2 separate regions of the Homo sapiens genome follow, and region 2 is linked to region 1. Evidence: promoter capture Hi-C in 16 types of primary human blood cells and fetal thymus (Javierre and others, 2016). All regions are on one chromosome and are shown on one strand. Each heading gives the region's core, a stretch centred on a gene start or on the middle of the fragment in contact. The rest is flanking DNA. Distances are from core to core; before and after follow the strand shown. Region 1 holds the start of AP2M1 (adaptor related protein complex 2 subunit mu 1). Region 2 overlaps ABCC5 (ATP binding cassette subfamily C member 5).

Evidence for each region. The method cuts DNA at HindIII sites, captures the fragments that hold promoters and counts their contacts. A CHiCAGO score of 5 or more calls a contact.
Region 2: a fragment that was not itself captured here is called in contact with the fragment with the promoter of AP2M1 in region 1 in 1 of 17 cell types (M1 macrophages); the score reaches 5.4 in M1 macrophages.

The regions. Positions count from the first base shown.
Region 1 is chr3:184,172,428-184,176,519 of GRCh38, forward strand. It overlaps AP2M1 (adaptor related protein complex 2 subunit mu 1), which reads left to right and starts at 2,428. Exons shown (of 12, transcript NM_004068.4): 1 at 2,428-2,532. It overlaps DVL3 (dishevelled segment polarity protein 3), which reads left to right. Exons shown (of 15, transcript NM_004423.4): 15 at 1-1,187. RefSeq lists enhancers at 2,476-2,545, 4,078-4,092 and a silencer at 2,756-2,805. The HindIII fragment of the contact is 5,273 bases long and covers 1,909-4,092 here.
Region 2 is chr3:183,917,799-183,921,890 of GRCh38, forward strand. ABCC5 (ATP binding cassette subfamily C member 5) reads right to left here. Exons shown (of 30, transcript NM_005688.4): 30 at 2,136-3,603. The coding sequence ends at 3,502. Among named protein-coding and RNA genes, the nearest start is that of MIR4448, 33 kb to the left of the region's middle. The HindIII fragment of the contact is 1,722 bases long and covers 1,496-3,217 here.

The DNA.
Region 1 (4,092 bases), core at 1,178-3,677:
TATTTCAATTAACAATACTTCCTTGGACGGGTGCGGTGGCTCACGTCTGTAATCCCAGCACTTTGGGAGGCTGAGACAGGTGGATCACTTGAGGTCGGGAGTTCGAGACCAGCCTGGCCAACATAGCAAAACCCTGTCTCTACTAAAAATACAAAAATTAGATGGGTGTTTTGGCACCTGCCTGTAATCTCAGCTACTCAGGAGGCTGAGGCACAAGAATCGCTTGAATCCAGGAAGCAAGCGGAGGTTGCAGTGAGTTGAGATCGCACTCCAGCCTGGGTGACAGAGTGAGATTCTGTCTCAAAAGCAAACTAACAAAGAAAAACAATACTTCCTGGGGTTTTGGTGTGCAGAGGGCTTTGTTGGAAGTGTGACTCAATCTTGCCTGCCTTCTGGGAGCTCTAGAATTGTTCCCAACCCAGTCCATGGCTTCTAGCCACCACTACAGGGCTGTTTCATGTACTTCTCTCTCTGACTCTGTCTTGTCCGACTCTCTTGAGAATTTCTCAACGATTGCTCATGCCTGTCAGTATCAGTGCTTCCATCGTTCCATCTTTGATTCACTTCTCTTTCCTTTCTATTTACTCCCAAAATGGAGTCATTCATCCTGATGTCCTCAATTGCTGCTGATATGCTGGTGATTCCCAAATACATAGCTCCAACCCCCAACTTCCCCCAGACTTTAGATCTGTATTGGTATTACCTACTGGACATCTCTATGGACAGTTCCGTATAGACTCAACTCATCTGCCCAACCAAGTATGTTCCTCCTGAATTCCTCTCCTGGTTACTTCATCACAATCTACATAGGCTCACCAGCTAGAAACATTTATGAGCTTACATTCCTTCTTCCCATATCTTATCAGCATATCATATCCATTTCACTCCAACACTCTGTCTTGAATTTGGCCCTCCCTCTCCCCTCTCTACTTTAATTCATTGGAGCATGGGATTTGGAGTTAGGTGGTTTTGGGTTTGAATTCCAGCTCTACTATTTTTGGTTGTGTGATAGAGTTATTTAACCTCTCTGAGCCTCAGTTCCCTCGTATGTAAAATGATGATAATAATACCTACCTCACAGGGTTGTTGTGAGGATTTAAATTAGATATTGTACGAAAAGTGCCTAGCACAGTGCCTGGCACACAGTAGAGTAGGTGCTCAATAAATGGTAGCTATTATTATTATTATTTTATCATTATTATTATTTACTCTAAATTGGTAGCAGTTTAGGGTATTTTTGGAAGATAAAGCTTTTGCAAAGGTAGAAGTGAAGCCTTGAGTGCTGGTTCAAAAATTAGAAGTGCCTGTATTCAGTCACTTAATGACTTCAGGCCGTGACTATGATGTGAGAGAGGTCAGATCTTCATCCTGCCACATCGTGGCTTCTGGCTGGAGGCTGGGAAGGACTGTAACATTTGCAACCAGATCTGTCCTTTCTTGCCCTTCCTTCCTCCCATGACAGGCGTAGTCCTGCCCAAGGAAGGCAGCAGTTTATCTCTGCCTACAGAAAGAGAAGAGCCAACAGATTTTCTTAAGACTCTGCAAGAACCAAGCAGGCCTTTCATGTGTGAGGGTTGGGTCTGTCTCCTCAGCTTGGATGTAAAGATTCTGTTTATCAAAGAGGGGATTTCAAATCCCATGTCAAACTAAATTCAACTCTTCGAACGTCTTCTAAGCAACATATATGCCTGTCACTAGAAGGCATACACAGTCGCATAGGTATAGCTAAGGAGAACATCGGCTCGTTCATGAAAAGCTGTAGCTGACCTCCGGGAAGAGTGTACAGTCATGGACTTATTTGTGAAAAGGTTTAGTTTCTTCCAAGTAGTCGCCTCCTTCCTCCCCGCTCCTCTCCTTGGGTCTTGATCCCTTGGAAAAAGCTCATGTCCGGAACAAATATATGAGAAAAGCTTGAGAGAATCAGAGGTAGTGTTAGAAAGCAGTAAATTCAGCACAAACACTTCTACTGCCCAGTTGTATTTATTTGTGTGTAAAGTGAGGACAGCCAGTCCTGGGACTCTGGAGACAGAAAAGGCCTACAGCAATCCAAGGCTTAACAGATGTGCTTCCACAAATGGCATTAATATCCCAAAGCTCTCCAGAACACAAATAGGAACAGGAGGAAGTGCAGGGACTACAATTCCCAGAGCGCTCAGTGAAAAAAAAAAAAAAAAAAAAAAAAAAAAAAAAAATGAGGCGGGTGGAGCGGTGTATGCTGGAATGTGTATTTCTGGTAGGGCCGACTAAGGCCACGCCTACCCCTTCCTGAGGCGGGGGCGGTTTCTCGAAGGCAGTCGGTAGTTGTAGTTTTGCTAAACCTAGAGCGCTTCAAATTGCAAGCAAGGAGGCCGCGAGGCCTGACGGGATTTGTAGTCGGCGCTAGACGCCGGCGCGCACGCGCAGCCGGGGCCGGGGCGGGGCGGCGGCACTGCGGTGAAAGCCGAGGCAGCGGGCAGACGAGCAGGGGGCGGGCGGACATCTTGGGATCCGGAGAGTGGCCGGGCCGGCAGAGCAGGGGGCCGAGGACACCAGGTGAGCCGGGGATCTGGCCTTATGGCGTGGAGGAGGACGCTGCGGGTCGTCTGCCTCGCCGCGCAGCTTTGTCCTGCCCTGCACTGAGCTGGCGGAAAGCTGCCCACACCCGGGAGTGGCTTCAGCCTTCGGACCCGGGAGCTAGCTGACGGTGGGGCGGGGGCGCCCGGGGCGCGATTGCAGGGCTGGCGGGGAGCGGTGCCCTCCACCTGACCCGCCTGGCGCCTCCCATGAGAGGGATACCGCTTGGAATCCTCCCAGAGCAGGAACGCTGCGCAGCGCCCCCTCCCTAGGATCGTGCCAACCCCCTACCCCTCCGCGCAAGGACAATTTCCCCGTCTCGTAGGACAGTGACACCCCTTTGTGCCGCCGCCTTGCACCGTGACAGGTCTCACGCCATGCGGCACCCCCTCCTCTTAGTTCAGTGGCACCCCGCGGCTCTTCTTCCTTAGACCTGTGACAGCCCCCGCACCCCCATGGCACCATCTTTTCCCACAATGTCCTCCCCAAGGCGAAAAGCCTACCACCCTCTCATTACTCTGCACCTGAACCCCAAGCAGGCTCTGTCTCCCCAGCTTTCCCTTATTCACCACTGTCAGTTCCCCCGGCCGGTTTTTCCTTCTTAAAGCCTTGACCTTTTCCATACTGGAAACCCTTACCTTTACGTTCACTCCACCAGCCCAGTTTGCTGCTGTGGGCTCACCTGAGGACGCTGCCTGGCTTTCACTGAAGGTCTTTCCCCTTAACTAAATGTTCCATTCTTGCCCAAGGCCCCCCTCTGGTTCTCGGGTGCCCTTCGCTACCTACCACTCGATACCTGTGGACTTGGTGCTTTGCCCCAGGCTCTACCTCCATTTTGCATCTCCTCTCCCAGCCTGTTTGGGACTGAGGGATGGGATGAGTCCACCACCTTGAGAGACCGCTCACCCCTCTGGAAGACCTTGACAGCCACAGGAAAAGGCTTTATTTTCCAGTTTAGAAAAGTCCTCTAAAGTACTCCCTGTGAAATTAATACCAGGGCTAATCCAGGAAATCTAAAACCAAATTAATGCCTTTTCTCAAACAGTCTAAATTAATTTGACCCAAATAATTTGGATAATTCAGGCATCCTGACATCCCTGCTTCTTGCTTATAGGCACCCAGGCCAGAAATGAGTTACTTCATGGGCCTGGAATCACGATTTCAGATGGAAGGATTTCTTAATTTTATGAGCCTGCGCCACCCCCACCCCCCAGTCCTTATTTTTATTGCATTCCAGAGCTTTTTGAAAGGGGGGTGGTAATCAGAAATAACTGTAATAAGCAGCTTGGGTGATGGAAGTGTAGTCTGCCAGCCCTAGGACCTTCCTCCTGTGCCCTTTGCCTGCTTATTCCACTGCCTGGAAGAGGTTAAGCCACACTCCCGGGTCCACATTAGGGCCTAAGGGCTCCCTTCTCTTCTCCTTATACCCTTTCCTGGAATGTTTGAATTCTGTGAATTAGAGTGCCGGAAGTTCAGGCCCTGCGACCTTCTCTGAAGGGTAGTGGAGCCCAAGAGACTGGATGCTCTAAAGGTTATGCC
Region 2 (4,092 bases), core at 1,107-3,606, 250 kb before region 1:
CAGCCCCTAGCCCCGTGAACCAACCATTCCAGGCAACGTCAGTATCTCTGCCCCAACAGGTGTGTGCCCACGGTCCTAACTGCCTGGTGCTGGCCTGTCCTAGCTGGGTATGGAGCTCCCCTTTGAGAACAGGGCTGTGCCAGGTCTGCGGGAGACCAAGTACTAGCTCTGATGGTTCTCACTTGGACAGCAGCCAGCTTAGTCCTCCTAAGCTGAGTCCACCTGAGCAGGTAGAAGGGAGTTTGCCTGAGCCAAGGAAGAATGCTGAATTCAGGCCACAGGCAGAAAGAAACAGGACACAGAAAAGATTCCAGGAAAAGAGGAAATCTGCTCCCAGTACACACCACCTCCCTAGTGGAAGCAAAGAGGAAGAGGCAGAGTTCTAGAGCCATGTCCCAAATGAGGTGAGCAGGATCCAGGTTTTTCAGGTCCTAGTTATGGACTCACACTAGTCATGGAGTTAGAGCTGGAAGAAATCTTAGAGGCAATCTGATCTAGCACATGCATTTGATGAAATTGAATTTGCTGATGAAATTGAAGCTCAGGTCATGAGATGAGGAACAGCTTGAACTCTGGGAGCAGGCTGTTTGGGTTTGAATTCTGTGTGATTCACTTCATACTGGATATTGGCTTGAGACAAGTTAAATCTTCACGAGCCTTTCCTCATCAGCAAAATGTGCTTAATTTTAGCTACCTTGTAAAGTGGTTGAGAAAATCACGTAAGGCCATGCTAGAAGTACCTAGTACAGTGCTTAGCTTACAGGTGCCCCTGAGTTCTAGCCAAGAAAACGAGCACAGAAGCGATGTCTAATGTTTTCAGGCCTGTTTCATAACACTTTCTGCTCAACATTCTGTGCTCTCTTCTCTGATCAGCACAGTGGATCCAGCAGAGAAGCTCAAATCTAGAGGTTTGCAGGGTGACCAGGAGGGAGGGAGACTGGGTTCCTGAACGCACGGGCAGAACCTTCATTCCACCCCTCCACAGACCACACTGCTTTGCTACAGGAGTTTGGTTACTGTGGTAAACTGCTGAAAGTCTGGGCTTGTTTCTTACACCTGTTAGCCTACTCTACTTGGCAACAGAGAATTATGAGCTGGGAAAGCACAAAATGGCAAAATGGAAATTGCTTTTAAAAATCCAATTTAGGCTGGGCACAGTGACTCATGCCTGTAATCCCAGCAGTTTGAAGGGTCTCGTTCTGCTGACCTTGTTACCTTCTTGGAAGATAAATCTAGTGCCTCAGTAAAAGTGGTTACCGTTTAGATTGGAGCTGCCCAACAGAACTTCCTGCAATGATCGACACGTCCTATATCTGCACTGTACATTACTATGTTGTACAGGTCGCATACAGCTACTGAGCGCTTGAAATGTGACACTCTAGGAACTAAAGTTTTAACTTTAGAGTCAAGCTCCTGGGTTCTCACGACAGCACAGGTACTTTAGAAAAATTAGTATAATTTCTACTGATGGCCAGCAAACTAATACCAGTTTAAAAGCTTTCTTGGCTGCATTCAACACAATATAGTCAGAAACTTTAGAATGAGTACCCTTTGCTTTTTTTTTTTTTTTTTTTTTGAGACGGAGTCTCACTCTGTCGCCCAGGCTGGTGTGCAATGGCACGATCTCAGCTCACCGCAACCTCCACCTCCGAGTTCAAGTGATTCTCCTGCCTCAGCCTCCTGAGTAGCTGGGACTACAGGTGCCTGCCACCACACCAGGCTAATTTTTGTATTTTTAGTAGAGACGGGGTTACTAATTTTCAATGGGTGAATCTGAATGAATTGGCTGAAAGGGTAATTATATTGTTTGAATTGCTAAGAATCCTCGATAAACTATTCATTTTAAATACATCTCACCACGACCACCCACCTCACCACAACCACTCACCTTTCCACTCCCCACCCTCTTATGGGCAGCCAAGGAGCTTTATTTGGGGACCATGTCCAGGAACACAGGCAGCGGGACTAAGGCCCACAGAGATGATTCCAGGTGTTCAGGGCCCCATGGCCCTTGCAACCAACCAGCTTTGCTACCAGTCCTTCCCAGATGCAACTCCATTGCTGGATATGCAGGTCCCAAAGCCATTCAGGGATATCTCACTCCCTTCCCAGAGAATTGTTTGATACACGAAGAGTTTTACAAAATCCAAAATAATTTTATTCACATTTTCAGATTTTTGCTTCCACAAGGTGTTCAGCAAACATGCTAAGGCGACAGAATGTCTAGTTGGTCACGACATGCAACGCTGACCATTCAATTGATGACAGCAGTGACCACGCCCACCTGAGCTACCAGCCCCACAGCACAAAGGGGGTTTGCGGGAACACACCAAACCACACAGCAACCAGCAACCTGAGGTAGGTCTCTTTACAGTACAAAAACTTCTACGCCAGTGTGAGACACTGATTAGCAAGAGCTGCTTAAAGTTGCAGACTTTGAGGGGAGAGAGAGAGAGAGACTGTGCGACGACTGCGGTGAGAAAGGAAAACAGACCCACGAAATCCTGAGCCCTGCCACTGAACTGTGGAGGTGTGGGAATAGGCAAATGAAAAAGTGCCACCTCAAAAAGCAGCAGTTGGCTCCAGGGCTTGGAACCAACAGGTCTTGGAGCTGGAGAGCTCTGTGCAGTGGCCAGCCATAGGAACCTGAGGCAGTGGGACTCTCTGTGGATAGACTGATTCTTGTTTAGAAACAACAGCAAAAAGAAGAAGGCAGGAAAGAAACTCCCCGGCTCGGAGGAATGTCTCTGTGATCCCCATTCTTGATGGAGGGAGTGAAAAGGGGCCTGGGCTTCGCCCCGCTGCTCTCCTGACAGAAACAGTAAGTGACACCAGGACAGAAGGCAGGAGCCCTGAGAACTCACGGCGCTCTGCATGGTCTCCAGCCGCCCACCCGTCTCCAGCCACCCCTGGAGCGGCCGTGGGGAGGCGGCAGAGGGGGCTGTCGGAGGGCCCACTATTGCCACACGTCTTCCTTTGGACACCCAGAAAACCTGGCACCGTGAAACCACCAGCTAGAGAAGAATGAAATGCTACTCTTCCTACAGTCTAATAGCAAAACCAGATCTCTAGTACAGCAAACTGTACAAAAATGATAGAAAGGAATATGCACTGTTATTAGCACAGTGCTTATTTTAATATAAAATAAACAGCTTACATTTTCACTGTAAATATAGGCTATGTACAGAATTATATATAGATATAGCTACACGTATAAAGCTTCATTATAGGCCTCTGATACAATTATAATAACGGTTCCCTGAACCTTTTAGAGTGCAATTAAGAACAAAAACTAAATTTTGTTTACATGAATATGGAATAAATACAATAATCAAAATATGACTCTCCCTAAAAGTGAAACACACAAGCCAATCCGGAACTGCTGTGCGAAAGATAAAATCGAGAAAGGCAAGGTTTCGGTAGGAGGACGCGATGAGGGGCCCGCCCCAGGCAGGGAATGGCAATGCTCTAAAGAAAAGAGACTTCGTCAACAGGGAGGAGTCAGCCCTTGACAGCGACCTTGTTCTCTGCAGCAGCAAACATGGCATAGAATCGGGAACTGTCGTTGGACAGAAGGACCGATGGGGTGTCAAACTCCACCACCTGCAAAAGAAGGAGACGCCGTCAGGACACAGCTCTGGGTCATGCAGGGTGATTCAGAGGATCCACGGCTCAGTAAGTGCCAGTGCCCTCTGAGGGTAGAATCTGGGGACAATTCAACTAGCCCTGCGTGCACCTCCCCCCTTATTTTTTTATTTTCAACTATCCAGGGAGTAAGGGAAAGGACAGAGAAAATGACTTCCAGCATTTTTGTAGTATGTGGTTTTGCCTAATAAAGTAGTATCATAGCAAAAAAAAAAAAAGAAAACGACTTCCAGACCTCCTTCACATAAATCCAAATTCCTTCAGCCTTGGGAGTGAAGGAACCAACCAACCAGGTCTATAAACTGCAGGAGGCTGGTGGCTCACGCCTGTAATCTCAACACTTTGGGAGGCTGAGGTGGGCAGACTGCCTGAGGTGAGGAGTTCAAGACCAGCCTGGCCAACATGGTGAAACCCTGTCTCTACTAAATATACAAAAATTAGCTGGGC